6 separate regions of the Homo sapiens genome follow, and regions 2, 3, 4, 5 and 6 are each linked to region 1. The links are contacts of gene promoters, found by promoter capture Hi-C in blood cells and fetal thymus (Javierre and others, 2016). All regions are on one chromosome and are shown on one strand. Each heading gives the region's core, a stretch centred on a gene start or on the middle of the fragment in contact. The rest is flanking DNA. Distances are from core to core; before and after follow the strand shown. Region 1 holds the start of PDP2 (pyruvate dehydrogenase phosphatase catalytic subunit 2). Region 2 holds the start of KCTD19 (potassium channel tetramerization domain containing 19). Region 3 holds the start of TMEM208 (transmembrane protein 208). Region 4 holds the start of ELMO3 (engulfment and cell motility 3). Region 5 holds the start of NOL3 (nucleolar protein 3). Region 6 holds the start of B3GNT9 (UDP-GlcNAc:betaGal beta-1,3-N-acetylglucosaminyltransferase 9).

Region 1 (4,777 bases), core at 1,350-3,849:
ATATCAAAACAAAAACAAAAACAAAAACAAAAAAAACCTGCCAATCGAGCTATGCTTTCCCTTTCTCGAAGGAGAGAGAAGTAATCCTTTTCCATCGTATTTGCTTATAAGACCTTGGGACAAGGAAGCCTTGAGAGATCCGGTGAGGGACTTCGGCTGGCCATCCTATATAGGGTGACTGAACTGGTTATAGCCTTGAAATGAAAGTTCCAATGCACATAAAATCCTCCAGGGTGCATTTTTACTTTGGAAGTGGGTGTGTGTGGTAACTTAGAAAAACTCAGTGGTTTCAGGCTTGGTGGAATGATGTAATTTTTCTCAGGAAAGTGGCGGGGGCCGCCATCTGTGTGTCTCAGCAGTCAGCCCAGGGCCTGACACATTGTGGGCACCCATAACACCTGCAGATTGAATAATTAAACACTGCTGCCTCTGTCCGGAAGGGTAACCCGTTGTGACCCTATATGACCTGTCTGCTGGGGGGAGGGAAGAAGTGTGCTTTTGCATTCTCTTGCACTCATTTATTAGAAACCCTTAGACTTTTTTTTAGTTTGGGTCTGAAACAGTCCTCTTAATATGCAGGAAGAGAGATATTGCCAGTCCTGACTTTGAACTTCTGGAAAGGGCTAAGGGTGAGTGGAACTATAAATATACAAGGGCAAGTCTGACATGAGCAGTTTTATTGTGACCACGTCCTTGGGTCCAGGAGGCTGGCCAGGCTGCCCAGGTAAGCCAGGGTGTCTTCCTTCTGGAAAACCACACTCTCAGGGCTCCAAGTGGCTTTTTCTGGTTGTCTCCCATTTTTCTCTGTCTCCAGGGAAGGACTCCATCTGACTTACCATAGTTACAAGAGTTCTGTGAAAATAATTTATAAGGAAGCAGGTCATCACTGGAATGCCACAATGTTAGGACCAGAAGGGACGGAGGGATTATCTGGTGTCGGGGTTCGCTGTCTCTCTCAACCTACCAGCCGCCAGCCGTGCTGAGTTAATTGTCAGTAGCAGGCCAATATAATGGTCAGTTCAAAGCTTAATGGTTTGTGGGAAACCACTAAAGACTTTAGGGCAGGAGGCCGGGCGCGGTGGCTCACGCCTGTAATCCCAGCACTTTGGGAGGCGGAGGCGGGCGGATCACGAGGTCAGGAGATCGAGACCATCCCGGCTAAAACGGTGAAACCCCGTCTCTACTAAAAATACAAAAAATTAGCCGGGCGTAGTGGCGGGCGCCTGTAGTCCCAGCTACTTGGGAGGCTGAGGCAGGGGAATGGCGTGAACCCGGGAGGCGGAGCTTGCAGTGAGCCGAGATCCCGCCACTGCACTCCAGCCTGGGCGACAGAGCGAGACTCCGTCTCAAAAAAAAAAAAAAAAAAAAAAAAAAAAGACTTTAGGGCAGGAATTTGAGGGTTTTTTTGGTTTGTTTTTGTTTCTGTTTTTGTTTTTTTTGAGACAGACTCTCACTCTGTCTCCCAGGCTGGCGTGCAGTGGCATGATCTCACCTCAGTGCAACTTCCACCTCCCTGGTTCAAATGATTCTCATGCCTCAGCCTCCCAGGTAGCTGGGACTACAGGCGCGCACCACCACTCCCAGCTAATTTTTGTATTTTTAGTAGAGACGGTTTCGTGATGTTGGCCAGGCTGGTCTCAAACTCCTGACCTCAGGAGATCCCCCCGCCTCGGCCTCCCAAAGTGCTGGGATTACAGGCAGGAGCCACCGCACTCGGCCTTGGAATTTGAGTTTTAGAAGTGTCATTCTGCCAGGCGTGATGGCTCACGTCTGTAATCCCAGCACTTTGGGGAGGCTGAGGTGGGAGGATTGCTTGAGCCCGGCAGTTTGAGACCAGCCTGGGCAACATAGAAAGACCTTGTCTCTACCCACCAACCACGAGAAAAGGTGGGAGGGGCGTCATTCTGGCTGCTCTGCTCTGTGGTTAGGACCAAGTCAAAGGTGGAGGAGGGAAAACCGTAAAATCAAGTGAGAGGCTTGGAATAGGGTGGCTGCGTCGCCGGATGGATGAGTGGAGAGAGATTTAGGAGATAGGATTTACAGCATTAGATAACTGGAAAGAGAGGGTGAGGGAGAGGAAGGAGTCAAGATGCCTCCCAGGGTTTTGGCTTGGGTCTCTGGGCAGATGGTGGGGCCATTACTGGGTTAGGAGAGAAGAGAAAAAGCAAGTTTGGCAGAAAGCTGAGTTTGGGGTAAGTTATGTTTGAGGCGCCTGGGGGCCTCCAGAGGCAGGTGTCCAGGTGGCTGGACATCAGGGTGTGGCGCTCAAGAGAGGGTTCTGGAGTGGTCGACACCGAAGTGGAGAGGAAGCAGTGAGGTGTTCTAACAACGGTGAGGAATTGGGGAGGCCGCTGGGTTCGGGGTATGCAGAGTGTAGCGGCCACGTAGCTGGCGATCTCAGGCACGTGACTGCCTGGTCCTGTGGCCCCGCGCTCGAACACTTTCAGCACCCAGGCAGGGGGTAAGGGGCGGTGTTGCCCCCTCCCGGGTCCCGCCTTTCTGCCCGCCTCTCATCCTCTTTAGCCATTGGGCAATACCTCTGTCCATCAAGGGCCCGCCTCCGCAATTGAGCCAACCAGGGCTGGCGGGAGGGCGCTTCCTTCTGGAGCTGGGTCCTGACTAGGGACCGCCTGGGTGAGGTGAGGACCTGGTGGCCGCAGTTGTGGCACTGTGCGCAGGCGCTGAACTGACCGGACGGAGCGGGCGGCTGTGGCCTCGCCAGCTGGTGAGAAGCGGGCGAGGGTCCGAGGTAGGGAAGGTAACGAGCGGGGGATGTGGACACCTCTTTCCCCGCCAGGCCTCGCCGGCGCCTGACCCTCCCGGCCTGCGGCACCGGCTCAGGTGACTGGGCGGAGGGAGAGCTGAGGTGAGGGGGCGGGTCCGCGGCGGAGAGGGACCAGCTGGGCCTACGACCACGGTCACCCCACTCACGTGCGCGCGCCACGTGGGCCCGCGGGCTCGCCGAGGACCCTTGGCTGCCTACCGGGGCACCCCACTAGCTGCTCTGGCCTATCGAGCACCCCTTGGAGCTCTGTGTCCCGACTGCACGCCCCTGTTTTACAGGCTGGCAAGCCGGGGCTCAGAGGCACCAAGCGGGTCGCCCGGGGGCACCCAGCTGGGGTACGGCCGTGCCGGGGTTCTAGGGAGATCGGTTTTGGTGGGCTCCGGAGTCCATGCACTTAGCGATGAGGCTGAAGTCAGAGATTTGAACTTGGGACCTGTCTGTTTTCTTTAAGGATGCAAGAGGGTTTGCGTCCTGGCTGCGGTGTATCACCCTGCACCGCTGCCTGCCTTGACTGCAGGGCCGGAGCGTCAGGCGCCCTCTGCTCCCGGACAGACCGCCCCCGCACCGACTTCTGCGGGGTGGGCTGGCAGGGGGTGGGGGAGTGAAGGGACGGTCCTCAGTCCTGGGAACTCTTGAGGTCCCGACAAATGATCTCGAGATCCCGAGGGCAGGATTCATACATGAAAAGCTCATTATAATGGGTCAAGGTTTTGTTCTGTTTTTTTTTTTTTAATTTAATTTAATTTAATTTAATTTAATTTAATTTATTATATTCCAAGGAAAAGTACCACCAGGGCTAGTGAAGGGACTAGGAAACTCGTCACCCCCTTGAGGAGGCAGATGTGAAGCTTTTGGAAATCAGTTTGGCAATGAGTCTACACCCTTGGACCTACTGACTCCTTGTTTGGGAAATAACTAGGATAAAACCTAAGTAGAGAAAAGGTTACTGCATAAAGCAGTACAGTTTGGTGGGGTTTTGTTGTTGTTGTTGTTTTTAAAGAGACAGATCTGGCTCTGTCGCCCAGGCTGGAGTGCAGTGGTGTGATCATAGCTCACTGCAGTCTTGAAATCTTGGGCTCAAGCGATCCTCCCACCTCAGCCTCTTGAGTAGCTGGGACTACAGGCACTTACCACCATGCCCAGCTAATCTAAAAATTTTTGTAGAGATGGGGCACTTGCTGTATCACCCAGGGTGGTCTTAAACTCCCTAGCCTCAAGTGATCCTCTTGCCTTGGCCTCCCAAAATGCTGAGATTATAGGCATGAGCCACTGTGCCCAGTCCAGTTTGGTATTTTATATTAATAAATAGCAAGTAGTAGAAACAACCTCTAAATTTCCAGCCGTAAAGAATAGTTAAGTAAGTTGTGATTATTTATGTCAAAATGTAGCCATCAGATGTGAAAAAATACTCTTATCAGGAAAGCCAGATTCAAAGTTGGGGTTACAACTCTACAAAAATACGTACAGAATGACTGTGCGCAGTAGCTCCCACCTGTAATCTCAGCACTTTGGGAGGCCAAGGGCGGAAGATCGCTTGAGCCTAGGAGTTTGAGACCAGCCTGGAAAACACGGGGAGACCCTGTCTATTAGCTGGGCCTGGCGGCACATGCCTGTAGTCCCAGCTATGTAGGAGGCTGAGGCAGGAGGATCCCTTGAGGCCAGAAGGGCAAGGCTGCAGTGAGCCACGATCTTACCATTGCACTCTAGCCTGGGGACAGAGCCAGGCTCCATCTCAAAAACAAAACAAAACAAAAAAAAACCAAACAAAAAATACCCAGAATGACTTAGAGGGGTATATACCTAATGATGAAAATAATAGCTACTTTTTTTTTTTTAGCAGAAGCGTCATATTTTATTAAATTCTCACAAAACCTTCTAAGACTAATATTCCCATTCCACCAATAGATAACTGGAGTGTTACCTCATCAGCAGTGTGTCTGATGCTACACAAGATAGTATCACAGCTAGTGTGCTATTGGGCCTCTGAAAATG
Region 2 (4,777 bases), core at 1,485-3,984, 450 kb after region 1:
CATATATACAAAGGCAGCAAAGATCACTAACCTTCCTCAGCTCATTGTTAAAAGTTTAAGGTCATCTGTATATCTGTTGGACAAGAGGTTGTTGAAAAAAAAGTTTAAGGTCATCTGTACATCTGTTGGACAAGAGGTTGTTGAAAAAAAAGTTTAAGGTCATCTATTTATAAGTGAATTGTCTTCTTTGTTTCAAGATGACCTAGTTTATCAATACGATGGAAAAGTAGAGAGCCATCAAACATACAAACCATCCATATCAAATTTTAAAATAAAGGGCACTACCCTTGTAAAAATATTTTTTAAAGGGTAGTAAATAGTATATAGAATTTTACCTAAAAAGAACCATAAAACAATATCGAATTCTAATTAAAAATTATGCAGGCTGAAGTGATTGGACTGCAATGTACTGATATCTGCAATTTATTTTGAGATGAATTTAAAAAAGACAGATTGATGGACAGATAGGATTGCTAGATGGACATGTGATAAAACAAATATGAGCAAAATGTTGATTGTAGAATGCAGGTGGTGGATATATGGTGCTCACTGTACAATTCTTTCAATCTTTCTGTGTTTATAAAATTGCATTAAGACGTTCGTGGGGGAAAAACAGTGTTAAAGTAAGAGGTGATTACTTAAGAAAGGAAAAGCTCCCTGCTCCAGAAAGAACCTGCATTTCCCATTCTGACAGCTGAGGAAGGAAAATAAATGCATGCAAGAAAGAATGGGATGGGGTCCATCTCTCCCACAGCAATATTCAGACATAAAGAAGAGCAATTATATATGCCACATTTGAGACTAGAAGAGTTAAAGGGGGTAATAAGAGAAATATGACAAATTGTGAAATGATTGCATAACTGACAGAAGCAGAGCCAGAAAAGTCAATCTAATGAGCTAACCTAGAATTCTAAGTCCCAGCCCTTCTAAAAGCCTTTCTACAAGTTCATGTTCAGGCAAAGGCTGAATGTAACAAATGGAGTGACTAAGGGTCTCACATAGACCAGAAAGCATAAATATGCAAGGAAGGACCCTTGATTCTGCTTTCTGTTCTCCTTAAAGGTGGCTGAGAGCTCAATGGGGGTGCTCAGAGTGTGCAGATGTTGGATGCCAAAGAAAACCTACTTCTCGAAGGTGAGCCCCAGTTCTGGTCTCAGTTCCTCTTTTCTTTCTTTCTTTTTTTTCTTTTTTTCTTTTTTTCTTTTTTTTTTTTTTTGAGACGGAGTCTCGCTCTCTAGCCCAGGCTGGAGTGCAGTGGCACGATTTTGGCTCACTGCAAGCTCCACCTCCCGGGTTTACGCCATTCTCCTGCCTCAGCCTCCAGCCTCCTCAAGTAGCTGGGACTACAGGCGCCCGCCACCACGCCCGGCTTTATTTTATTTTATTTTATTTTATTTTGTTTTATTTTTGTATTTTTAGTAGAGATGGGGTTTCACTGTGTTAGCCAGGATGGTCTCGATCTCCTGACCTCGTGATCCACATGCTTCGGCCTCCCAAAGTGCTGGGATTACAGACGTGAGCCACCACGCCCAGCCCACCCTCTTTTCTTGTTAAGGATAGGGTGTGACAAGAGGGTCCTGGCTCCTTCTTACATACATGTCCCATCCACAGGTGGGCTCTTAAGTGCCTGCTGGAGTGAGGGTAGGGGTTAGGGATGCGGCTGTTCTTTCCCAAAGACTACTCAGGGGCTGGTTAGTGCAGAGCTATCGCAGCCTGGCGACAGCCCTCAGTCACAGGCAAGCTTAGGGGAACCTGTGGTGCTTGAAAGACAAAAGGCTTCTTGCCGGACTGACTTCAGGAAACGGGGTAGCCCTAAAGCAGTCATCCCCACCCCATTACAAAGAGCTTCTCTCTTTCCCACGCTGATCCTTCTCCCCCGAAGAAGCTCCGTCCAAGTAAATTTCTTACCTTTTTTTTTTTTTTTTTTTTGAGACAAGGTCTGGCTCTGTCACTCAGGTCGCCCAGGCTGGAGTGCAGTGGTGCAATCTCGGTTCACTGCAACCTCCACCTCCCGGGTTCAAGCGATTCTCCTGCCTCAGCCTCCCGAGTAGCTGGGACTACAGGCCGTGCCACCACACCCGGCTAATTTTTGTATTTTTAGTAGAGATGGGGTTTCACCATGTTGGCCAGGCTGGTCTTGAACTCTTGACCTCAGGTGATCCGCCCACCTCGGGCTCCCAAAGTGCTGGGATTACAGGCGTGAGACACCGCGCCCAGCCCGTCCAAGTCAATTTCTAGAGCTAGAACTTCCTCATGCTCTAAAGACAGGACCCCAACTCCTCAGAGCCAGGATTCCCAACCTTTCAGATCTGGAGCTCCCCATCATGCCTTAGAGTTCTGTCCCCACGCTCCAATCCTTCAGATTTGGATCTCCCCTTCACACACACCCTCGCCTTGCCCCAAAGTCAGCATCCCCCAGCGCTGAGATATGAAGACCACCCCGTCAAAGGGGCACACGCCCAGCCCTCAGAACCGGAGTCCCCCACATCCTCAGAGCCAGAACACTTCATCCCTCAAGACAGAGCGTTATTCTAACTCCTCAGAGCCAGCCCCCCAAATCCTTCCCGGCTGGGGGCCCCTCGCTCTCTCCCATGCCCCAGAGCCAGGTCTCGAACCACTTAGCCCCAATCCTTGGCCACAGCGGCCCCCATTCGCCGCTTTGGTGCTTTTGGCGCCCCCGCCAGAGCGGGCTCCGTACCATGGTCGCGGCTCCAGCAGCGGGCGGGCGGGCTTGTGACCCGGCCAATAACGGTTCCCGGGGTCGCGGCGGCGCGCGCGCGGGGGGCGGGGCAGTGGGCGGGGCCTGGCGTGCGCCGGGTGGTCTCGCGGGCGGTGGCAGGTGAGCGGCGGGCGGGGATGGCGGAGCAATGGGAGCTGGACGAGGAAGGCATTCGCCGCCTGGGGGCGCTGACGCTGGAGCAGCCGGGTAGGGTCTGGCCGGGAGGGTGTGGACTGGGAACGTAGGGTCAGAAGCTGTGGAAAGAAAACTGAAGTGGAAGGCGGGGAACCTGAGATAGAGGCGAGGGAACCACAGAGAAGCGGTACCTGAGGCTGGGGGGCGGGGGGATAACTTGAGGCAGAAGGTTAGAGGGAGGTGGAGGTGGAGGAACTGAAGTAACGGGAGGGTGTGGGGCAGAGCCCGAGGAATTGAGAGAGAAGAGGGGAGTGTGAAGTAGGGAAGGAGAAACAAGGTTAACAGGGGACCCTGCCGCAGGTGACAGAACTGCGGGGGGCGGTGGCTGACCGCTGTAATCCCAGCACTTTGGGAGGCGGAGGCGGGTGGATCACCTGAGCGTGGCCAACATGGTGAAACCCCGTCTCTACTAAAATACAAAAATTAGCCCGGCGTGGTGGTTCAAGTCTATAATCCCAGCTACTCGGGAGGCTGAGGCAGGAGAATCGCTTGAACCCGGGAGGCGGAGGTTGCAGTTAGCCGAGATCGCACCACTGCACTGCAGCCTGGGCGACAGAGCGAGACTCCATCTCAAAAATAATAATAATAAATAAAATAAATAAATAATAAAATGTCTATTAGACATCCAAGTGTAAGGTACCTAGTAGGCAGTTGGATATATGGGTCTGGACCTCAGAGGAGAGGTCAGGGTTAGAGATGAAAATTTTGGAGACATTAGCAATAGGTGGTATTTAAAGCTACGGGAGTGGATGAACTCAGCTAAGGAGAGAATGTCGATGGAGAAGTGAAAGAAAGCTTAAGACTCAACCTTGGAATATTTCAGTGTTTAGAGGTTGTATAGAGGAAGAATGTGGTATCTTGGAATTTGAGAAGGGGTAGTGTATCGAGCAAGCAATGGCCAACTGTGCCAAATGCTATTGACAGGCTGAGCAACTTAAATGCAGAGTGTCTGTTAGATTTAGCAACATGGAACTTACTGGTGACCTTGACAGAGGGAGTTTTGGGAGGGTGGGGAGGAGGGAAACCAGATTGGAGTGGGATGAAAAAGGGAAATGATATTTGAGGGGAAGAGACAGTGAAAGTAAGAACTTTTGCTGAAAATTTTAGCTGTAAAAGAGACTGCAGAAATAGATGGTAGCTGAAGCGTATGATGTGCAGTCAAGAACAGAACAGGAAGGATATACTAGAGCATGTCGGTAGTCTAATGATTAATTTGGTAGAGGGGGGAAATATGTAATATTTACTCATTTTGACTGTTAAAATAATTCAATTAATTTATTCTGTGGGTAATATAATAATTGTACAGTGAGGGCCAGGCGCGGTGGCTCACGACTGTAATCCCAGCACTCTGGGAGGCCGAGGCGGGCGGATCACGAGTCAGGAGATCGAGACCATCCTGGCTAACACAGTGAAACCCCGTCTCTACTAAAAATACAAAAAAAATTAGCGGAGCATGGTGGCGGGCGCCTGTAGTCCCAGCTACTCGGGAGGCTGAGGCAGGAGAATGGCGTGAACCCAGGAGGCGGAGCTTGCAGTGAGCCGAGATCGCGCCACTGCACTCCAGCCTGGGTGACAGAGTGAGACTCCGTCTCGAAAAAATAAATAAATAAAATAAAAATTGTACAGTGAGAAGAAAGTCTTTACTCCCCCATCCCCGTCTCATAGGCCTAGTTCCCCTTCCTAAAGGCAATTACTGTTACCAGTATCTTGGATAGTTTTCCAGAAATATTCTCTACATATATAAGCATTTATCACTTATTTTATAATTTTATATTATGGCAATTTTCAAATATATACAAGAGTAGAGATAACAGAATAATGAACTCTATTAGCCTACCTCAACAGTTATCATCAATTCATGGC
Region 3 (4,777 bases), core at 756-3,255, 350 kb after region 1:
ATAGCCTCATGGGGATTAAATTTTACATATATATAGTGTGTGTGTGACAACTAGATGTTCCATAAATGGTTGCTGGATTGCTGTTACTAAAATTTCTACCTCTGCAACTTCCCCACCTCAGTAGCTCAGATTTCTACCACCCCAAACCTGGATTCCTTCCACAATCTCCCACCTGAACTCTTTGCCTCCAAGTTCATCCTTGCTAATACATTATGCACACTGTCACAAGGTTAATTTTTCCTATAAAACAGTTTTCAGTTTCAGCTCACCCCTGCTGTAAAACTTCAGGGTTCACAGTACTCTCAGGACAGTCTCCACTCCTGGATCAGCACTGCCAGGCCTCTGTGCCTGATTGGACTCGCTGGTCCCCAAACTTCCCCAGTCCAGTCTCCCCATTGCCCTACGCACACAGCATGTCTATTTCCTTTTGCCTATGCGGGCCTTTTCCCTGGGATCCCCTTCTTGAAGCTTAACTTCACCAACCCATTGTGATCTCTCCTTCCTTTCTCAGATGCCAAGCACGCAGGCACAGTGCTCAGCCAGTGCTTACTGGATTAAATTAAGGTTGGACAGTCCAGTCCTCTACCTCTATTTTCACCAAGAGTATGCTCAGGGAAGGGGTCGGGGAAATAAAGCAGTCATTACTGAGAGGACAATGACTGGCAGAATAGACTTCTGGGCCAGGAAGGGAGGCATAGGGAAGACAGTATTGATGGGGACTGGGACTGACCAAGTCCCAATCCCTCCAGGGAGGCACGGAAGCCTGTTTGAGCTGAGTTAAGACAGTGGCCATCCTGTCTTCTGGGGCTAAGCAGCCAGCCCAAGAGCAAAGGGAGAGGGGAACAAACCTGTCATCCCTTGGGGTGAGTCGGGAAGGGACACAATTCATTGACCTAAGAAGAGGGTGGCCTTTCTAGAGGGACAAGAGGAGGCAGTGATGAGGATGGAGTGACCATCCCATGAGTCCCATCTCAAGGGGGCTACTGGAGATAATGATTGGTCACTCATGGGGTCTATGGGGATGGAAATAGATAGCCCCTAAAGCTAAGGGGGAAAGGGATAGCACTGCAAGCTCAATAGGGGTGGGAACAGGCCTATTTTTGCTAAGGACAGGAGCATCATTCCAGGACCGATGGGAAAGGGTGGCCTGTTTCCCATGGGCAGAGAGAGGGGGCTGCCAACCCTCAGGACAAAAGAGATGGAGAAGCCATTCCAACAGGCCACTGAAGACAAAACCTGTTATCTCCCTGGCAGATGGGGCAGAGTGGTCTTGCCCCTGGCTAAGGGGAAGGAGCAAACATCCCACGGAGTGAAAGAGGTAAGGGCGGCCATCACTAGGGGCCTAGGAATGGGGAACAGGCCTATCCTTGTTAAAGGAACTCAGAGATCATTGCAGTTGATGGGGAGGGAGCAGTCTGTTTCCCACTGCCAGGGAGAAGGGGCGGCCGTCTCTGTAGGAAATGGAGAGATCATCCCAAGGGACCAATGGGGATAAGATCAGTTACCCTTCGGGACGATGAGATGGAGCGGACATCTTCCAGAACTGAGCGGGGAGGAGACAGCCACTTCAAGGGAAGGGGATGGGCAGAGGGCCTGTTCTCGCGGAGATGACAGGGCAGCTATCTTCTGGGGCCGATAGGGAAGGGGAGGACGGTCCCCCAAGCTAAAGGGACAGAGTGGCCCAAAGGAGGAACCGTTACCCAGAGCTAGAAGGTCCCGGGATCGGGAGGGCGGGTCGTTTCCGCCAGGCTGGAGGGGCCGGGCTAGCTATCTGACAGCCCCTCCCCAAAGCTCAGGACCGCGAGGGCGGGGCCTGTCCAGAGCTAGGCCTGAGGGCGGCTTCCTCTCACCTCCAGGGGCAGCGACTCCGCCATCGCATCCCTGCCGCCTCCGCCCCCACTGCGCAAGGCTTTCTGGGAAATGTAGTCTCGCCTCTTTGGGGCGGGGCTTGGGAAGGAAGTGAGACCTATTTCCGTCGCAAAAGCTGACGACTTCGGTCTGCGCCGGAAGTGCATGAGCTGCCGATGTGGTGCTTAGTGATTGCGGTTTCGGTCGCTCTCCCGTGTTTCCCGGGCTGGGTATTTGCCTCGCACCATGGCGGTAAGGAGGATGGATAGGGCGGGGTCCGCACCAGCAAAGCTCTCCAGGGGCTGTGAGAGTGAAAACTGAGAAAGAACATTAAGGGATATGGGGTGGGCCAGAGCGGGGCGCCATCCCTGGCCAGACCGTGCTAGAGCTGGGCTGGGGGGATGGCGGCGCAGGACCATACCAGGACTAGTGCCAGAGCGGGGTGGGCATCAGTACCAGGGCAGGCCAGAGATCTAAGTGACCTGAGGTGGGGGTTAACCCAGATCGGGACTACGCCAGCGGAGGCCTGAGAGAGGCACCATTCAACTCCGCTCAGGAGTACCCTTGGAAGAGTCGTTAGCCTAAAGCCAGACTACCACGGGATCCAGAGGCGGTATTAGCTTAGGATTGAATTGTTCCAGGGCGAGCAAGAGGCGATTGATCCTAGCTGCGGGTGCTGGAGAGATGGCGTCAGCCCTAGGCAGAATGGACTGGAGGATGGGTGGACATCCCAGGGATTTTGCTAGGTTTCTGCACTACGGGGACCTGGCTGAGTTGCGGATGGAGCTCTATAGCTCACCAGGCTGGTGGGGAGAATGAGGAGGACCGTGGCCTCCTGACGGCATCTCATCATTCCTCTGCAGCCCAAGGGCAAAGTGGGCACGAGAGGGAAGAAGCAGATATTTGAAGAGAACAGAGAGACTCTGAAGTTCTACCTGCGGATCATACTGGGGGCCAATGTAAGTGCCTACCTCCTTGCTTCTATGCCCACTTATAGTCAGTTCCCTAGTCCTCAGCCCTGCTTGGTGACGAGGAGTGGTACCCGAAAAAGCTCTAGAAGAGAGCTCCAGTCAAAAAGAAATGAGAGATCTGGGCACAGAGAAAGTGCTAACTAGTAAAACACAAAGAAAATGAAGGCGTGAGTCGTAGCTGAATTTGAGAGCTCTTCCTACCTCCAAGTACACAAAGGCTTCTTTCCTGGGCTGAGTTGGGTGTCAGAGGAGAGTGGGTATTTGGGATTCAGGGAGCAGGGCCCTTTCTTCAACCCTGTAAGAACAACCTTGCTCCTCCCACAGCCTGGCCTAATTCTTGGTCAGAGTTGAGGGAGACCCATGGTTTGGAGGTAACTTCTGACCCCAACCTGATCCTGTGATTGCTTGCAGGCCATTTACTGCCTTGTGACGTTGGTCTTCTTTTACTCATCTGCCTCATTTTGGGCCTGGGTAAGTATCTCCATCCTGGGAGGTGGATGAGTGCGTAGGGTCAGTGGCTGGCCTTTGATACCCTCATTCTTGCTCTGCAGTTGGCCCTGGGCTTTAGTCTGGCAGTGTATGGGGCCAGCTACCACTCTATGAGCTCGATGGCACGAGCAGCGTTCTCTGAGGATGGGGCCCTGATGGATGGTGGCATGGACCTCAACATGGAGCAGGGCATGGCAGAGTGAGTGTCCCCCACCGCCAGCCCAGGTGAGCGGCCCCAGGGCTGGGGCCCAGATAGCCCAAGAAGCACAGCTACTTGTAACTTGAAAAGGGTGGAAGGGAGTTGCAACTTGAAAAGGGTGGAAGGGCCCATATGCTGTCTTTCCAGCTTTATTTCTATCCACAGGCACCTTAAGGATGTGATCCTACTGACAGCCATCGTGCAGGTGCTCAGCTGCTTCTCTCTCTATGTCTGGTCCTTCTGGCTTCTGGTATGTGGGCTGGGGGCGCTCCCAAGAAGGGGCATCTAACCCTCCCCATCTTTTATTCCCTGCATCTTGCTTCAAGTTACCGTTTCTCTTGTAGGCTCCAGGCCGGGCCCTTTACCTCCTGTGGGTGAATGTGCTGGGCCCCTGGTTCACTGCAGACAGTGGCACCCCAGCACCAGAGCACAATGAGAAACGGCAGCGCCGACAGGAGCGGCGGCAGATGAAGCGGTTATAGCCATTGACATTGTGGCCACAGGCCACTGGCCCTGGGTGGCTCTGTCAGGGTGCACAGCCCCTCATGCCTGGAGCAATGAGGGTCTAGTCCAGGGGCCAAAAGCAGTCTGAGGTATTGGGTATACTTATACTCTATAGGGTCGTTGAATAAATGGCTTAGAATGTGGCTGATGGCTGTGTGGGTGATGAGGGATGAGGCAGGAAAAGCTGGTCCTATGGGATTTCCCTCCTGCTACAAACCCAGCCTGGTGGGGACCCTGAAAGAAGAGAAACCTGTTGGATTAGCTAAGAAAATTTTATTTTGCTCCGTGCGTTCAAGGAGCTCACACACATGCACATGCATATGCATGCACACACACACATACACACACACTCACATGCATACACACACGGCTAATACTGCTCAAGGCATGGCTCCTGGGCACAGAGTTCTGGGGCCAGAATTCTGCTCTGGGCCCTCCTCACTCTGTCATCTCCTGCACTGCAGTCCAGGGTCCAGATAGATTTCCGGGATACAGCACCTTCACACCTCCAGGCCAGGACCCTTGCTTAGTCCCAGTGCCTGCACCAGGTCATCTCCGAGCCCACTCTTCAACGTCCTTCTCACTGCAGGGACAGAGCAGGGTTGGAGGGGGTTGATGGGGTTCAGGTGGGCAGTGGGATTGTGGGGGGTTACTTACAAGACTTGCGGTTGCCGCGGGAACGCTTGCGTTCCCTAGCAGCTAAGGCACGAGGACTGCTCTTGGTCACTGACTGCACCAGAAGGTCCATGATCTCATCTGATGTATC
Region 4 (4,777 bases), core at 1,209-3,708, 320 kb after region 1:
ACTTCGGTGTCCACCTGCCGTCCTGTGTACATCCAATGGACACTTTATTCCTGCATGTCCTCAACTGAACTTAGTTTCCTCCCGAAGCTTGCTTTCCACCTCTGCGCACCCAGCCGTCAGCCCTAGTTATCCAGGCCTGACCCTTGGCTCTCACTCTAGTTCTAGTTCCTTATCCCTCCTCCTTCTGCTGCCCACCCCATGCCAGCTAACTGAGGTCTGTCCCAGATGTCCCCTCCTATCCTCTGGTATCCTCAGCACTCAGGATGACCCCTGGCCACCTCTGTCCTGGATTCTTCAGCATCTTTCTCTTTACCCTGACTGACAGACTAATCTTTCTGAAATGCAGGCCTGACAGAAAAATGTGGCATTTCTCTGTTTGCAAAAGTACCTTTAATGGCTCCTTGAGGGCCACCAGATAAGATCTGAACTCCTGAGCCTGGCATGTGAAATCCCTCATAGTCCTCTCTGGTTGCATTTTCTTCTGCTTCCCCTGTGTCCTCCTGGCCAGAGGTTTGTAGTGGAGTCATCACCCTGTAGCGCCACCACCTCTGCCTGGTGACCTGACCCAGGGTCTGGTCTCAGTCTTGCACAGAGCAGGTGCTCAGCAAGGGTGGGACAGATGGGGTACCTTCTGTCAGACAGGGGGTGCATGCTGAGCCCAGAAAGAGGCTTCTGTGGCCTTTCCGAGTTAGAAAAGCTGTACCAATCGCTTGCAGGGGGCCTTTGGTACCCTGGGCTCAGCACTGAGGAATTCAGGTTTAGCAAGTGAGGCCAACAGACAGTGCCAGCTTGGCCTAGGCAGGACCTACATCTCCTTAGCTGTGTGGAGCCTCAGGGTGGGTGGTATAGGATCCGAGGAAGCCAGGGGGCTGTAGTGGGGCCAGGCTGGACCTCTGTGCCCTGAGCATGGCTTTCTTGTTTTTCAGTTTTGGAACTCCCCAAAGAGCTGTCAGAAATCTTTGATCCCACACGAGGTAGGCTGCTGCATTCCTCCCTGAGGCTAGGGGTAAGGGACACAGCTCATTGGGTCCTATGGCTGTTTTCTTGCCCTTTTGAGGACCTTGTTGTGGCGCTTATGGTAACTGGGGCAAAGGGTGAAGTTCCTGATGGGCAGGTGGGGTTCCCTTTCCTGGGCTTTGGTGGGTGGAGAGGTGGGAGCTGGAATGTTAGTAACTGAGCTCCCTCCATTCCCAGAGTGCATGAGCTCGGAGCTGCTGGAGGAGTTGATGTCCTCAGAAGGTGGGTGGCCCTGGAAGGTGGGAGTGGGTGTGGGCAGGGGTTGGGCTGCTGCTAGGGGAGCCCTGGCCCAGGGCCTGAGACTAGTGCTCTCTGCAGTGTTTGCCCCTCTGCTTCGTCTTTCTCCACCCCCGGGAGACCACGATTATATCTACAACCTGGACGAGAGTGAAGGTGTCTGTGACCTCTTTGATGTGCCTGTTCTCAACCTCTGACTGACAGGGACATGCCCTGTGTGGCTGGGACCCAGACTGTCTGACCTGGGGGTTGCCTGGGGACCTCTCCCACCCGACCCCTACAGAGCTTGAGAGCCACAGACGCCTGGCTTCTCCGGCCTCCCCTCACCGCACAGTTCTGGCCACAGCTCCCGCTCCTGTGCTGGCACTTCTGTGCTCGCAGAGCAGGGGAACAGGACTCAGCCCCCATCACCGTGGAGCCAAAGTGTTTGCTTCTCCCTTTCTGCGGCCTTCGCCAGCCCAGGCTCGGCTGCCACCCAGTGGCACAGAACCGAGGAGCTGCCATTACCCCCCATAGGGGGCAGTGTCTTGTTCCTGCCAGCCTCAGTGTCTTGCTTCTGCCAGCTCCTTCCCCTAGGAGGGAAGGGTGGGGTGGAACTGGGCACATGCCAGCACCACTTCTAGCTTCCTTCGCTATCCCCCACCCCCTGACCCTCCAGCTCCTCCTGGCCCTCTCACGTGCCCACTTCTGCTGGGCCTTTAGCCCTAGAACCTGCAGGTGGTGGGGGCGGCTACCAAGAAGGAACAGAGGTCTCTGGGGAGGAGTCTGGGTGGTCCAGCCCTGATGATTGGCCCCACCTCCTGCTGCCCCATAACCCTCTCTTCATTTCGGCTTTTTCATTTACCCTCATTTAGAGCCATTTGCAGAGATTTAGAAAGATTTACAGTAACGAATGGATTCCTATATAAAGATTATTTTTATACTTTTTGCAGCAAAAGGAAATTGTAATATTTGTACAGTGTTCAAGTGAATAAAAACCATGCCTAAGGCTAGCTCTGATGTGGTTCTTTGGGGACCCTCCTTGGGACTGTGCTGGACTGGCAGTGTGATTGGGTGGGTCACCTTGCTGGAACTAGGGGTGGGGCGGCCTCCGGCAGCCTGCCCTCCCCGCCCCCACCTGCCGCACCTTGGTGTGGGGCGGGGCCGCCTCGGCGGGGCGGGGCAGGCGGAGCCGTCCTACCTTCCTACCCCCAGACTCCAACCCGGAACTAACCTCGGCTCCCTTGGGAAGGCCGCGTTGCATGGCCAGGAGCAGCAGTCTGGGCCGCGAGTGCGGGACACCGAGGTCAGGTCTCGGAAAGGGAGGACCTCCTCGTCCCCAGGGGCCCCAGGCCAGGTGCACCCTTGGCCGCAGGTGCACGGTCTCCGGAAAGTGCAGGCGCCCACGTCCCAGCTGGACCATGGCGCCTCCGCGGAACGTGGTGAAGATTGCCATCAAGATGCGTGACGCCATCCCGCAGCTCATCCAGCTGGACCAGGTCACCCGGCTGGTCCCGCCTCCATCTGCCCCACTGCCCCACCTCCCGGTAGCCCCCTGGCCCTCGGGGCAGCCCGCCCCACCCCTCCCCCCAGGCTCCTCCCCATCCCTCCCTGCCCAGGCCGCGAGAATGACCACTCCACTTGCAGGCGAAGCCCCTGGCCGCTGTGCTGAAGGAGGTGTGCGACGCGTGAGTGCTGCCGGGCCAGGGCCTGCGGAGGGCGGGAGGGCAGGAGGGGCGGCGCCCCCTGCCGGCCTCGCTGAGCCTCGTGCCCCTCAGGTGGAGCCTGACGCACTCTGAGCGTTACGCCCTGCAGTTTGCGGATGGGCACCGGAGATACATCACCGAGAATGTGAGTCCCCTCTCCCCAGCCCCAAGCTCGGCCTTCCGACCCCTCTAACCCACCTGGCCCCGATAACTCTGGCTCTTCATCCCACTACCGGAGCGCGATCTGTTATTCACCCCCAGCCGCCCTCACCGACACCCCAGTTGATCAGTCCTCGGAGCCCTCCCTGACCTCGCTGCCTTTTCTGCTGTCTTCTCCAGAACCGCGCGGAGATCAAGAATGGCAGCATCCTGTGCCTCAGCACGGCCCCAGTAATGCCCCTCCCGTCCCGCCTTCCCCATCCCTGCCCCTTTGCTCCAGGTCCAGAGGCCCCCCGCCCCGGAGGCCCCCGCCCCAGCCCTGCCTTGCGCCACCTAGTTGACGCCCGGGGCCGCACACTTCCAGGTCCCACCCTTACCATGCCCAGCCTCTTCACCTCTGCTCCTGCTCCGTTCCTGCCAGGACCTTGAGGCTGAGCAGCTCTTGGGTGGGCTGCAGAGTAACAGTCCTGAAGGGCGCCGGGAAGCCCTGAGGCGCCTTGTTCCGCTGGCCTCGGACATGATCTTTGCCAGGGAGGTCATCAGCCGTAATGGGCTCCAGATACTAGGCACCATCATTGAAGATGGGGACGAGTGAGCACAGGGATGTGTGGGCTGGGGGAGATGGTGGGTCTTTCTGGTCCTGGGGTGGTCCTGCTCAGCCCCAGATGTCCCCCCTCCAGCCTAGGAGAGGTGCTGGCCCTCAGCCTGAGGGCCTTCTCAGAGCTCATGGAGCACGGCGTGGTGTCCTGGGAGACTCTGAGCATCCCCTTTGTGAGGAAGGTGGGTGGGCTTTCCTAGGGCAGCGGGTGGGGGCAGTGGAGCAGTGGGGCAGTGGTAGACCCGGTCTTCCATGGGGGTGAGGTGGTGACACCCCCGCCCCTTACAGGTGGTGTGCTACGTGAACATGAACCTCATGGATGCCTCCGTGCCTCCCCTGGCCCTTGGGCTGCTGGAGAGTGTGACCTTGAGCAGCCCAGCCCTGGGCCAGCTGGTCAAGAGCGAGGTGCCCCTGGATAGGCTGCTGGTGCACCTACAGGTGTAAGCCTCTGGGGCTGGGGTCCAGATGCAGGGAGCAGGGCTGGAGCCTGAATGTTCCACTGAGCCCTCTTCTTGCCATAGGATGAACCAGCAGCTGCAAACCAAGGCCATGGCCCTGCTGACAGCCTTGCTGCAGGGGGCCAGCCCTGTGGAACGCAAGGTGAGTGTCGATCGGTGGCTAGATGGGGGCAGCACCCGGTGGGCGCTGCCCCACCCTGAAGCAAAATCCTCTAAGCCCCCCTTTTTTTTTTTTTTGAGATGGAGTCTTGCTCTGTCGCCCAGGCTGGAGTGCAGTGGTGCGATCTTGGCTCACTGCAAGCTCTGCCTCCCGGGTTCACACCATTCTCCTGCCTCAGCCTCCCGAGTAGCTGGGACTACAGGCTCCCGCCACCACGCCCAGCTGATTTTTTTTTTTTTTTTTTTTTTTTTAAGTAGAGACGGGGTTTCACTGTGTTAGCCAGGTTGGCCTCCATCTCCTGACCTCGTGATCCGCCCGCCTTGGCCTCCCAAAGTGCTGGGATTACAGGCGTGAGCCACCGCGCCCAGCCTAAGCCCCCTTTCTTTCTACCCCCTCAGCACATGCTTGACTATCTTTGGCAGAGGAACCTTCGCCAGTTCATCTATAAGGTAGGAAGTGGTGG
Region 5 (4,777 bases), core at 1,126-3,625, 290 kb after region 1:
AAGTACACAATAGTTTAAGAAGCATTGGTGGCTATGAGGTGGCTCATGCATGTAATCCCAGCACTTTGGGAGGCTGAGGCGGGCAGATCACTTGAGGTCAGGAGTTCAACACCAGCCTGGCCAACATGGTGAAACCCCCCGCCTCTGCTAAAAATACAAAAATTAGCTGGGTGTGGTGGCGTTTGCCTGTAGTCCCAGCTACTCAGGAGGCTGAGGCAGGACAGTCGCTTGAACTTGGGAGGTGGAGGCTGCAGTTAGCCAAGACAGTGCCATAGTGACATAGTGGGTGACATAGTGAAACTGTCTCCAAAAAAAAGAAAAGAAAGAAAGAAGGAAAGAGAGAGAGAGAGAGAAAGAAAAAAGAAAGGAAGAAAGAAAGAAATAAAGAAAGAAGAGAAAGAAGCATGGATATTGATACTTGCATAGGGAGGGGAAGGGTCCCAAAGCCCCAGCTCCACCACCCAAACTTCAGGTCCCAGGTAGGAAGCAGAGGCACTTTCTCTGTGCCATTTATGGCAGGAGTGGGGAGGTTGGGGGTGGAGAGAGGATGGGGATCCTCTCCTATCATTTTCTAAAGATTGGGGGATTAAAATCTTGATGCATCTGGGTTCCTTGGGAACTTAATGCGGGGTGGACACTGCAGGCCAAAAGCAGTTCTGTCTGCACAGGGGGCCTCTGGGCCTGGAAAGCGGGGACAGGAGCCCAGAGAGTCTGCTGCCTCCGATGCTGCTTCAGCCCCCTCAAGAAAGTGTGGAACCTGCAGGGCCTCTAGATGTGAGTACCCCTTCTGCTGAAACAGGGGCATGAGACCTGGTGGGGTCTAGCTCTCTGTGGAGCCTGGGGAGGGCACCACTGACCCAGAGCTCTCCTCAGGTGCTGGGCCCCAGTCTCCAAGGGCGAGAATGGACCCTGATGGACTTGGACATGGAGCTGTCCTTGGTAAGAAGTGGGTCGGGGAGGGCAGAGGCCAGGGGTGGCTGAGTCAAGCCCTCTGGTCCATAGCTGTTCTCTGTGAGCCAAAGCCGTGTCTCTAGAAGAATTGTCACAGTGATTTCCCAGCTGTCCCCCTCAGCTGCTAGGTCCCCTCCCCAGCTGCTCCCTGCGGTTCTCACGCAGATGCAGCCCTTGGTTCCAGAGCGGGGTGAGCCTGAGCTGGCGGTCAAGGGGTTAAATTCTCCAAGCCCAGGTAATGGTTGTGATGACTCCTACCTGGGAGGACGCCGTGATTGGGCTGAGCTACCTTGATTGAGTGAGGGGGCAATCTGCAATTTGCAGGGAAATCCTGAGTTCAGGCTGCACTGCAGAGCGTTCCTTGAGCCACCCATGCCCTCACCATTGGGCGAGAGTGGGGAGGTTAAGAATGGATGTTTTATCCTAACTGAGCAGAAGGCAGGCGGGCAGGGCTCTCCTTCCCTGAAGAAAGGAGGGGGAACATTTCCCCTGGTGAGCGCAGTCCCACTTCTCCTAGGGAAGGACCCCACGCTCGGGGCCCCACTCCTGCTGGATGTCCAGGCGGCCTTGGGAGGCCCAGCCCTGGGCCTGCCTGGGGCTTTAACCATTTATAGCACTCCTGAGAGCCGGACTGCCTCCTACTTGGGCCCGGAAGCCAGTCCCTCCCCCTAAGACCCCGCGCCTCTGAAGGGGCTTGGAACCAGTCCGCCGCTGCACATCCTTCTTGGCTTCCTGGCGCCCCCTATCGGGGGTGAGCGAAGCCCCCACTACTAAATGGCCTCTCTCCACTACCCCGACTATCCCTGCACATAAACTCCGTTTTTTTTTTTTCTGTTTCTGGTCTCTTTTCTCTATCGACCAGGGAGCACAGGAGTTATGGGTGGGGGGTGATTTTGCATTTGTAGAAGCGTCCAGATACTAGGTTTTTAATAGAGGAACCCCAGGAGGGTGGAGGTGCTTGGGGATCCGGTGCCTAGCTCCCTTGCTTAGGCCCGGGTCCAGGGCTGGCGCGGGGCCGCTGCAATCTCTGGGAAGCGGGGGCTTCTGGGTCGCGCTCAGCTCTGCAATGCATGCGTTCTGTGATCCTGGTGAGTTGGTATCCTTCTCTGAACTTCCTCTGTGACAGGCAGAGAAGAGGGGTCGATGACAAGATAGATGGAAAGCACCTGGAAATTGGCAGGCCCTGAGTGGGCGCTGGACGTGTGGGGCCGCGGGCCGAACTGCCCCCTCCTGGCCTCATCTCCTGGTGCGCCCCGGGTGGGGAGGGAAAGCTGACTACATGCACGTCCCCAGCCAGCGCGCGGCCTCCGCGGTGTGGCTCCTAGTGCCCGGGGAAGAACCCTCACCCTCCCTATTCCCAGCAGCCCTGGCCGCCCCGCCCCCGCCGCAGCTGCTGCACCCACCCCCACCCTGCCCGGCCCTTTCTGCACCGTCATCTCCTGCCCCGCCGAGGCTTGACCCGTGAGTGGGGACGCCCAAAACGGGCCAGACCGGGAGCCCCACTCCCGGCTGTGGGAGGGAAGGGAAACCGAGATTGGGCAGAATCAGCGCCCCACCACCCGCTGCGGCGCTCGGGGGTCGGGGGGGCGGGGTGGGTAGGACTGTGGGCCCCGCCCTGCCGCAGGACTCTCAAGCTCTGGGACTGGGTGGAGGGAGGTAAGGGGCGGGGGGGGAAAATCCGTGCAGTCGCACATGCGCAAAGGCTCTTCACTGTCCCAAGACCCTGGCTTCCTGGCCAAAGAGCCCGCGCAGCGAGGTGGGGTTGGGGGCTGGGACCCAGCTCCGTGCCCCGCCACCTGGCTCTCTGGGAAGAATCGGACCTGTCACCCTCGAAGGACTGGCCGCTAAATAACTTCGGTATTGAGAGCTGTGTGAGCCTCAAAGGGAGGGCCCAGACCAGCTGGAGTCTCTACCCCCAGACAGGATAAAGGGCAGGACTTGGGGTCATAGGAGGAGGCGGCTAACATGAAAACAACTTAGGTTGGAGAGAAGGAGGGGCCAATCCAATCTGCACCCTCCCTGTGTCTGTCCCGAGTAGGTGCTGTCCCCCTCTCCCTTCCTTTGCCCACCGATTGGAGGGACACTCTGGAAAACTCAGTTGAAGAAAGCGGAGAGTCTGCGTGTACACAGTGCAATGATGTCAGTTAATGCACTAGTGAGGGCATGTGTTGTTCACGGTACACAGAAGAAGGAACCACCAGCCCTTGGGACACTTAGGCATTGGTGTAGACAAGGGAACATTTGAGTCCTGGACGATGGATAGGTCCACGGAGCGGAGGGAGGAGAAAAGGATTCCAGTCTTAGCGATCAGCATCAGCAAAGGCTCCGAGGTGCCAGAGGCATAGTGAGTTCTCCGATCCCTGGCTGGTGGAGGGAAGCTGGGAAGGGCCTGGCTGTCCAGGGTGGTGGGAGGAGGCTAGAGTAGCCAGACCAGATATTTTGGGTTGTCTCTGATGGGCAGTGGGGTGTGGGGGGGAGGTAGATAGGTATTTAGGATGGAATTCTGCTAGACAGGAAAATATAGTTCAGTTCCTCATAGTTCAGGCTGGAGCAAGTAAGATTCCAGTTTTACCACTGAATCTCTGAGCCTGTCTCCTCATCTGTAAAATGGGAACAGCAATCCTAGCCCAGAGGGTTGTCAAAGTCACTGTGCTATCGGGCCTGGCAGAATGGGAGTGAGAGGGGCTCAGAGGGACTGTTACAGGACATGAGGTGACGATGGTGGGGTGGCAAGGCAGGAGCTGATGGAGACTCACTGAGAAGTGGAGAAGCAAGATTCATCACATACGGGACATAAAGGGAGATGGAGGGGCAGGGGGTAGTCCTGGTCTCGGCCTGGTGGGGAAGGGCTTCAATGGGAGGAAGCCAGGGTGTGAAGTGACGGGGGAGGTATAGTGTGACACCAGAGGGTACTGAGAAAGACCTGGGAGGCAGGATGGCGGCTAGGACTAAATCCTCTCTCCCAGAGAAGGCCGAGCCTCCTAGAGCCAGAGAAGGAGGCAGAGGAGGGACAGCAAAGGGAAGAAGAGATGGGAGGATGCCGTGTGAACAAAGCCAAGGCGGGGAGGAGAAGAAGTTATTATCAGGGTGGGGGTGGGCTGAGGGCATGGTTCAAGGCCTGATGTCTTTGCCTCCTAATGCCGGGGGTCTTGCTGGCTGGGTCAGGCCACTCACAGGAATGGGCCATAATCCTTGGTTGACAATAAATGGACAAAGCAGCTGGGTGCGGTGGCTCATGCCTGTAATCCCAACACTTTGGGAGGCCAAGGTGGGTGGATCACGAGGTCAGGAGTTCGAGACCAGCCTAGCCAACATAGTGAAACCCCGTCTCAACTAAAAACACAAAAAATTAGCTGAGCGTGGTGCGGGCACCTGTAATCTCAGCTACTCGGGAGGCTGAGGCAGAAGAATCGCTTGAACTCAGGAGGCAGAGGTTGCAGTGATGAGAGAATGTGCCACTGCACTCCAGCCTGGGCAACAGAGTGAGACTCTGTCAAAAAAAAAAAAAAAAAATGGATAAAGCAGATTGACTCTCCCTAATAGCCGCTGTTGGTAGAGATAGTCTCTCAAGAGCCAGGCATGGTGGTTCACATGGTGGTTCACAAAGTGCTGGTAATCCCAGCACTTTGGAAGGCTGAGATGGGAGGATTGCTTGAGGCCAGCAGTTCGAGACCAGCCTGATCAATATAGCAAGACCAGGACAGGCGCGGTGGCTCACGCCTGTAATCCCAGCACTTTGGGAGGCCAAGGCAGGTGGATCACGAGGTCAGGAGTTCAAGACCAGCCTGGCCAACATAGTGAAACCCCGTCTCCACTAAAATAAATA
Region 6 (4,777 bases), core at 985-3,484, 270 kb after region 1:
ACACCTGGGCCCAGGAGAGGTTGTGGGAAGCATAATATCTGTTTTCAGATGAGCTATGGCAAAGTGCCTGCCAGGTTCATGAATTCAGGCTGTGGCGGCCGGAGCCCCTCCACCTCCCTGTGGGGCCTGGCCTTGAGAGCCTCTGCATACGTCCGCGTCAGCCTAGGGGGTTCCAAATCCAGCAGAGTGGTAGGATTCCCTAAGTCCCTGCCACCACACCAGAACACACCTCTGTGCTACTAGGAGGACCAGACATATCCACTGCTCTGGGACCTGTTGGACAAGAGATGGTCATCTACCACCCAGCCTTGGCTCGCTCAAAGGGTCACCATTACACGGGTTTCAACTGGTTCCAGCAGGGTGGACCGCCAGGAGCCAAGCTTAACCCCCATCCCCTGGGATCCTGTGGAGACAGGCACCTGGTGATCAGGGAAGAACCACATACACGGCAATAATCTGGGAAACCGGCTCCATTCTGGGTCTGAGTTAGGAGCTTGGGGCTGTAGTGGGGAGCTAGGAGTCCCATTGGAAGGGGCCTGCAGCGACAGGCTGTGGATGCGCACAGGCTGGCCCATGCGGCCCGTGCAGCAGGCGCCACATAAGCCAGATGTCAGCGGCCGAGAGCCCGTGCACTACAACCAGCTCACGGTAAAAGCAGGGGTCGAAGGTGCTCAAATGCGGCGCGGCTGAAGGCTGGGGGATGCCAAAGGTGCGGAAGGCAGGGTGAGGCTCGGGCGTGAGCCGCAGGCGCTGCAGACACATGCCCAGAAAGACGTCGTCGATGGGGAAGAGCTCGACCTGCGCACAGGCGCCAGCCAGGCGGTGCAGCGTGGCCCCGGAAAGCACAAAGCCACCGCCGCCCGCGTAGGCCGGATAGGCGGGCAGGCCGTACACGGCCTCGGGGATGTAGTACTTGCTAGCCCGCGTGCGGATGGGCCGCGCATGCACAATTACGTCACCAGCAAGCAGGTCTTGCGCCGGGTCCCGCGGCGCCAGGAACTCCAGGAGATTTCCCACGTTCACGAACACATCTGCGTCGCCCTTAAAAACGAAGCGCACGTCGGGGCAGAAAGCTGAGGCCCAGGCTAGAAAGTGGATCTCCTTGAGCGTTAGGTTAAAAAAGGTGTCGTCGAAGGCCCAGAGCAGGATGTCCGCATACGCAAGGCTCTCGGCCCGCAGCAGGGCGCGCCAGTGGGTTCGCGCGCCCTCCCCAACTTCGTCGGCCCCGCCCGAGCCTGCGCCCCTGGGCACGCCCAGCAAGAACACGCGGCGCACCAGCGCCCCCTGCACGCGACCCTCCGCGCCCCACGTCTGGCGCACGGCTTGGCGCCGCTCGAAGTCCTCTGCCACCGACTTGACAGCAATAAGCAGGTCCGGGCGGCCACCGGGTGCGCCGTCGCCGCGGCACTTGTGCGGCTGGTTAATGAGCAGTGGAAACCGCCGCTGGTCCTTGGCGCGCAAATAGCGGGCGAAGTCAAAGGGTCCCGTAGGCGTGGGCGGCGCCGGTGTGTCCCCTTCGTAGGCCGGCGGGGCTGCACCCGCGTCGGGTAACTGGAACGCGCGGGGTCCGGGGGTGGGCCTCGGTGCCGCCCTCCCTCGCCCTCGCGGCGCGCTCGCCGTCGGGGCCGCGCCGTCGCGCTGCGCATAGAGTAAGAGGCCCAGGGAGGCGCCAAGGAGCAGCGTGAGCAATGCGTCCCTGCGTAGGCGCAGCCTCCTCCTCATCTCCGCGCGGCCTGCGCCCTCCCTCCCCTGTAAGGGTCGCAGTCGGCAGCAGGGGGCAGCGAGCCCCGCCCTCCCCAGCTGAGGGGGCGGGAGGCCACGCCCCGGGGGGGGCTCCAGCGACCGACGGTTGAGCCCCTTGCGTTGTTCTCCTCCTCCCGGCCGTGTCGCACCGCCGGGACCGGCAGCCTGAAGGGACAAGAAGTTCACCCATGTAGCCAACTCCCCCGCGGCCTCAGCTCCGGCCCAGGACTGCGACCCAGGGCCGGGCAGGGAGACTGGGAGCCTCGGCCCCTCCCCCGCCCGCCTCCCTCGCGCTGAGGCCGAATCCCTTCCACCCTGCCATCCCCTCAATGTCGGGCCCTGGGGTCCCGACACTCACGCTCGGCCCTCGGAAGTGGCGCAGCCCCGGACGCCCTGGCCTCCGGGGCTCAGCGCAGGGTCCGAGGGGCCGCCATGGACCGGGCCCGAGCCAAATGCAGCGTTGGCAGGAAGGGGGACCGGTGCCGTGCCACGTGACCCTCCAGCTGTGCGCGCCCAGACTTCTGGAGCTCAGCTCCGCCCCGGCGCCAGGAGCACTCCGGCCTCAGAGTGGGGACTAATCCCTGAGAGGGAGCCTCCTCACTCTCAGTCCCTCTGGGAAGGGCTGGTCTGGGTGCTCACACCCCAAATTCGCCTTTCTGGGGATTGGGAAGAAGCATCAACTCCCCTGGTTAGCTCCCCCAACTATCCACTCCCCACTCCCGCGTCTCTGGAGTGGGGCGGAGCCTGGGCTGCTAGGAGCCCCTGAGCAGGCCGGTTCCAAATGCGCATGAACCTGGCCACCATCCCGGGCGGGCCTCTCCTCAGCAGCCCTGATTCCATCAGGCAGGGTGCATACGCTGCCCCCGAGACACATGGCTGTCTTCTTACTCCTGGTTCTGCCATGCTCCCCACCCCCAGTAAACACACGCACGGGACAAACAAGGCAGCCCACCCAATCCTCAGGGCAACTCTGCCAGCAGCTCTCATTCATGCCCAGATGGGGACACTGGGGGGCTCTTCGGGGAGTTAAGTGACTTGCCCAGGATCCAAAGGCCAGAAAGCTCTGCCCCCAGGTCTTCTGAAATTCAGGCCAGGATTATTTTATCTGTCCTTGCCCCGCTCATTCATCCACTGGGATACAGAACAGGGGGCCAACCCAGTCTGCTTTAATTTCACAGGCAAGCACTTCAGCCTGTCTCCCCGGGGGCTAATGGACCTGAGCCCAAGCCAGGTGCAGTTCTGAGTCCCCTGGTCCCCAGCATAGCCTACTGCAGGTAGAAATGATCAGGCCTGTGCAGCTGCAGGTCAGACAGGGCTGGCAAGGATGGGGACAGCTTGGGAAGACTCCTGGCGGAGGCCTTGGCTAAAGGATTGCTCTGGGATGCAGGTGGACAGAGGTGCTCTGCAATGGAGAGCTAAGTCCTTGCGCAGCTCAGCTGCCAGCTCTCTCTTTCTTGGTCCCAGCCCATGTGGTGGAGCCTGGAATAGACAGCCTCTACTGGTCTCTTAAGAACCCAGCCCCATCCTCTGTCCAAGGGCTATATCTGCTCCTGACGGCTTCTTCCCACCAATGTTCAATCTTAAAAAGCCACCTCTCTGGCTGGGTGTGGTGGCTTATGCCTGTAACCTCAACACTTTGGGAGGCTGAGGTGAGTGGATCACTTGAGGTCAGGAAGTCAAGACCAGCCTGGCCAACGTGGTGAAACCCCCATCTCTACTAAAAATACAAAAATTAGCTAGACATGGTGGTGGGCACCTGTAATCCCAGCTACTTAGAGGGCTGAGGCAGGAGAATTGCTTGAACCTGGAAGGTGGAGGTTGCAGTGAGCCAAGAACACACCACTGCACTCCATCCTGGGCAACAGAGCGAGACTGTCTCAAAAAAAAAAAAAGGCCAGTCGTGGTGGCTTACTCCTGTAATCCCAACACTTTGGGAGGCCAAGGCAGGTGGATCACTTGAGGCCAGGAGTTTGAGACCAGCCTGGCCAACATGGAGAAACCCTGTCTCTATTAAAAATACAAAAATTAGCCAGGTATGGTGGCACGTGCCTGTAATCCCAGGTACTTGGGAGGCTGAGGCAGGAAAATCACTTGAACCCGGGAGACGAAGGCTGCAATGAGCCGAGATCGTGCCACTGCACTCCAACCTGGCAACAGAGTGAGACTCTCTCCAAAAAAAAAAAAAAAAAAAAAAGCCAAATCTCCACCCTGAGCCTTACTCTTTTTGGTCACAAAGTAATCAGGAGTCCTCTGCTCCAGCTTTCTCCGCGGCCTCACCTTCCATTCCCTCCTGTGATAAAGCTTCGGGCTGCCTCCACCATGACTCAGAAAGACCCCTGACTGGTAAGCTCCTTTTAACTGAGTCCAACAGACACTCCTCGGTCTTGACTACCCGCTCCATTATAGTGGGTGGGTAATCCCCTGGTTTCCAAATCTCCTGGTTTTCCTCCTTCCTCTTTGGCTGTTCCCATTCTGGTTGGTGTCCTTCAGGACATCCCCTGGGGCCACCCCACCCACTCCCCACCTGTCTATTCATCAATCTTTAGATTGAACCCTCATCCTGAACTCAGAACTACAGACCCAACTACCCTCATACTCTCTCCCCGGATGCACTGCAGGAACATCATGCTCAACTTGTCCCAAACAGAGCAAGCATTTCATTTCCCCCCAGGGCCCCATCCCAGCAAGCAGTCCCACCCACCATCCAACTGGCAAAGGCAGAAACTTGGGGCCCTCTCTCAGCCATTCCTCACCCAGTGTCACCAGGCCTGTTACTCTTCCACCCACACAGCTCTTTGGTGGTCATCCCCTTCCCTCCATCTCTGCTGCTACTGCCCCAGCCTGGGGCCACCATTTCCCCCACCCCCATCCTCATCAACCTCCCAGTCTTGGCCAGGTGCGGTGGCACATGCCTGTAATCCCAGCACTTTGGGAGACCAAGGTGGGTGGATCACCTGAGGTCAGGAGTTTGAGACCAGCCTGACCAACATGGAGAAACCCCATCTCTACTAAAAATACAAAATTAGCTGGGCAT

The links. The method cuts DNA at HindIII sites, captures the fragments that hold promoters and counts their contacts. A CHiCAGO score of 5 or more calls a contact.
Region 2: a contact is called between the fragment with the promoter of KCTD19 here and the fragment with the promoter of PDP2 in region 1, in 3 of 17 cell types (M1 macrophages, M0 macrophages and total B cells). The highest score is 6.1, in M1 macrophages.
Region 3: the fragment with the promoter of TMEM208 here is called in contact with the fragment with the promoter of PDP2 in region 1 in 12 of 17 cell types (naive CD8 T cells, total CD4 T cells, activated CD4 T cells and 9 more); the score reaches 11.7 in naive CD8 T cells.
Region 4: a contact is called between the fragment with the promoter of ELMO3 here and the fragment with the promoter of PDP2 in region 1, in 8 of 17 cell types (M0 macrophages, activated CD4 T cells, M1 macrophages and 5 more). The highest score is 8.2, in M0 macrophages.
Region 5: a contact is called between the fragment with the promoter of NOL3 here and the fragment with the promoter of PDP2 in region 1, in 3 of 17 cell types (megakaryocytes, endothelial precursors and M0 macrophages). The highest score is 6.0, in megakaryocytes.
Region 6: the fragment with the promoter of B3GNT9 here is called in contact with the fragment with the promoter of PDP2 in region 1 in 12 of 17 cell types (erythroblasts, M0 macrophages, endothelial precursors and 9 more); the score reaches 11.8 in erythroblasts.

The regions. Positions count from the first base shown.
Region 1 is chr16:66,877,916-66,882,692 of GRCh38, forward strand. PDP2 (pyruvate dehydrogenase phosphatase catalytic subunit 2) reads left to right here and starts at 2,600. Exons shown (of 2, transcript NM_020786.4): 1 at 2,600-2,725. RefSeq lists enhancers at 114-163, 2,314-2,393, 2,642-3,414 and a silencer at 2,874-3,053. The HindIII fragment of the contact is 2,608 bases long and covers 1,024-3,631 here.
Region 2 is chr16:67,324,007-67,328,783 of GRCh38, forward strand. It overlaps KCTD19 (potassium channel tetramerization domain containing 19), which reads right to left and starts at 2,735. Exons shown (of 16, transcript NM_001100915.3): 1 at 2,699-2,735. The coding sequence starts at 2,701. LRRC36 (leucine rich repeat containing 36) reads left to right here and starts at 2,809. Exons shown (of 14, transcript NM_018296.6): 1 at 2,809-2,926. The coding sequence starts at 2,857. RefSeq lists an enhancer at 867-946 and a silencer at 2,702-2,851. The HindIII fragment of the contact is 1,968 bases long and covers 1,740-3,707 here.
Region 3 is chr16:67,225,125-67,229,901 of GRCh38, forward strand. It overlaps TMEM208 (transmembrane protein 208), which reads left to right and starts at 2,006. Exons shown (of 6, transcript NM_014187.4): 1 at 2,006-2,100; 2 at 2,712-2,807; 3 at 3,231-3,290; 4 at 3,371-3,507; 5 at 3,673-3,757; 6 at 3,852-4,154. The coding sequence starts at 2,095. The coding sequence ends at 3,989. FHOD1 (formin homology 2 domain containing 1) reads right to left here. Exons shown (of 22, transcript NM_013241.3): 21 at 4,669-4,777; 22 at 4,265-4,594. The coding sequence ends at 4,512. It also overlaps the pseudogene FBXL9P. RefSeq lists an enhancer at 1,809-2,158. The HindIII fragment of the contact is 11,037 bases long and covers 467-4,777 here.
Region 4 is chr16:67,196,673-67,201,449 of GRCh38, forward strand. It overlaps ELMO3 (engulfment and cell motility 3), which reads left to right and starts at 2,459. Exons shown (of 20, transcript NM_024712.5): 1 at 2,459-2,732; 2 at 2,881-2,921; 3 at 3,012-3,084; 4 at 3,279-3,329; 5 at 3,520-3,689; 6 at 3,779-3,878; 7 at 3,985-4,136; 8 at 4,218-4,296; 9 at 4,713-4,763. The coding sequence starts at 2,655. E2F4 (E2F transcription factor 4) reads left to right here. Exons shown (of 10, transcript NM_001950.4): 8 at 927-974; 9 at 1,195-1,239; 10 at 1,336-2,246. The coding sequence ends at 1,451. RefSeq lists a silencer at 1,795-1,854. The HindIII fragment of the contact is 7,654 bases long and covers 86-4,777 here.
Region 5 is chr16:67,168,163-67,172,939 of GRCh38, forward strand. NOL3 (nucleolar protein 3) reads left to right here and starts at 2,376. Exons shown (of 4, transcript NM_001276309.3): 1 at 2,376-2,412. It overlaps HSF4 (heat shock transcription factor 4), which reads left to right. Exons shown (of 13, transcript NM_001374675.1): 10 at 669-774; 11 at 874-939; 12 at 1,117-1,186; 13 at 1,469-1,779. The coding sequence ends at 1,623. RefSeq lists enhancers at 1,433-1,482, 1,973-2,122 and silencers at 2,333-2,622, 4,263-4,426. The HindIII fragment of the contact is 13,408 bases long and covers 1-4,777 here.
Region 6 is chr16:67,148,764-67,153,540 of GRCh38, forward strand. It overlaps B3GNT9 (UDP-GlcNAc:betaGal beta-1,3-N-acetylglucosaminyltransferase 9), which reads right to left and starts at 2,235. Exons shown (of 2, transcript NM_033309.3): 1 at 2,102-2,235; 2 at 1-1,908. The coding sequence starts at 1,722. The coding sequence ends at 514. RefSeq lists silencers at 1,591-2,020, 2,031-2,190. The HindIII fragment of the contact is 3,664 bases long and covers 379-4,042 here.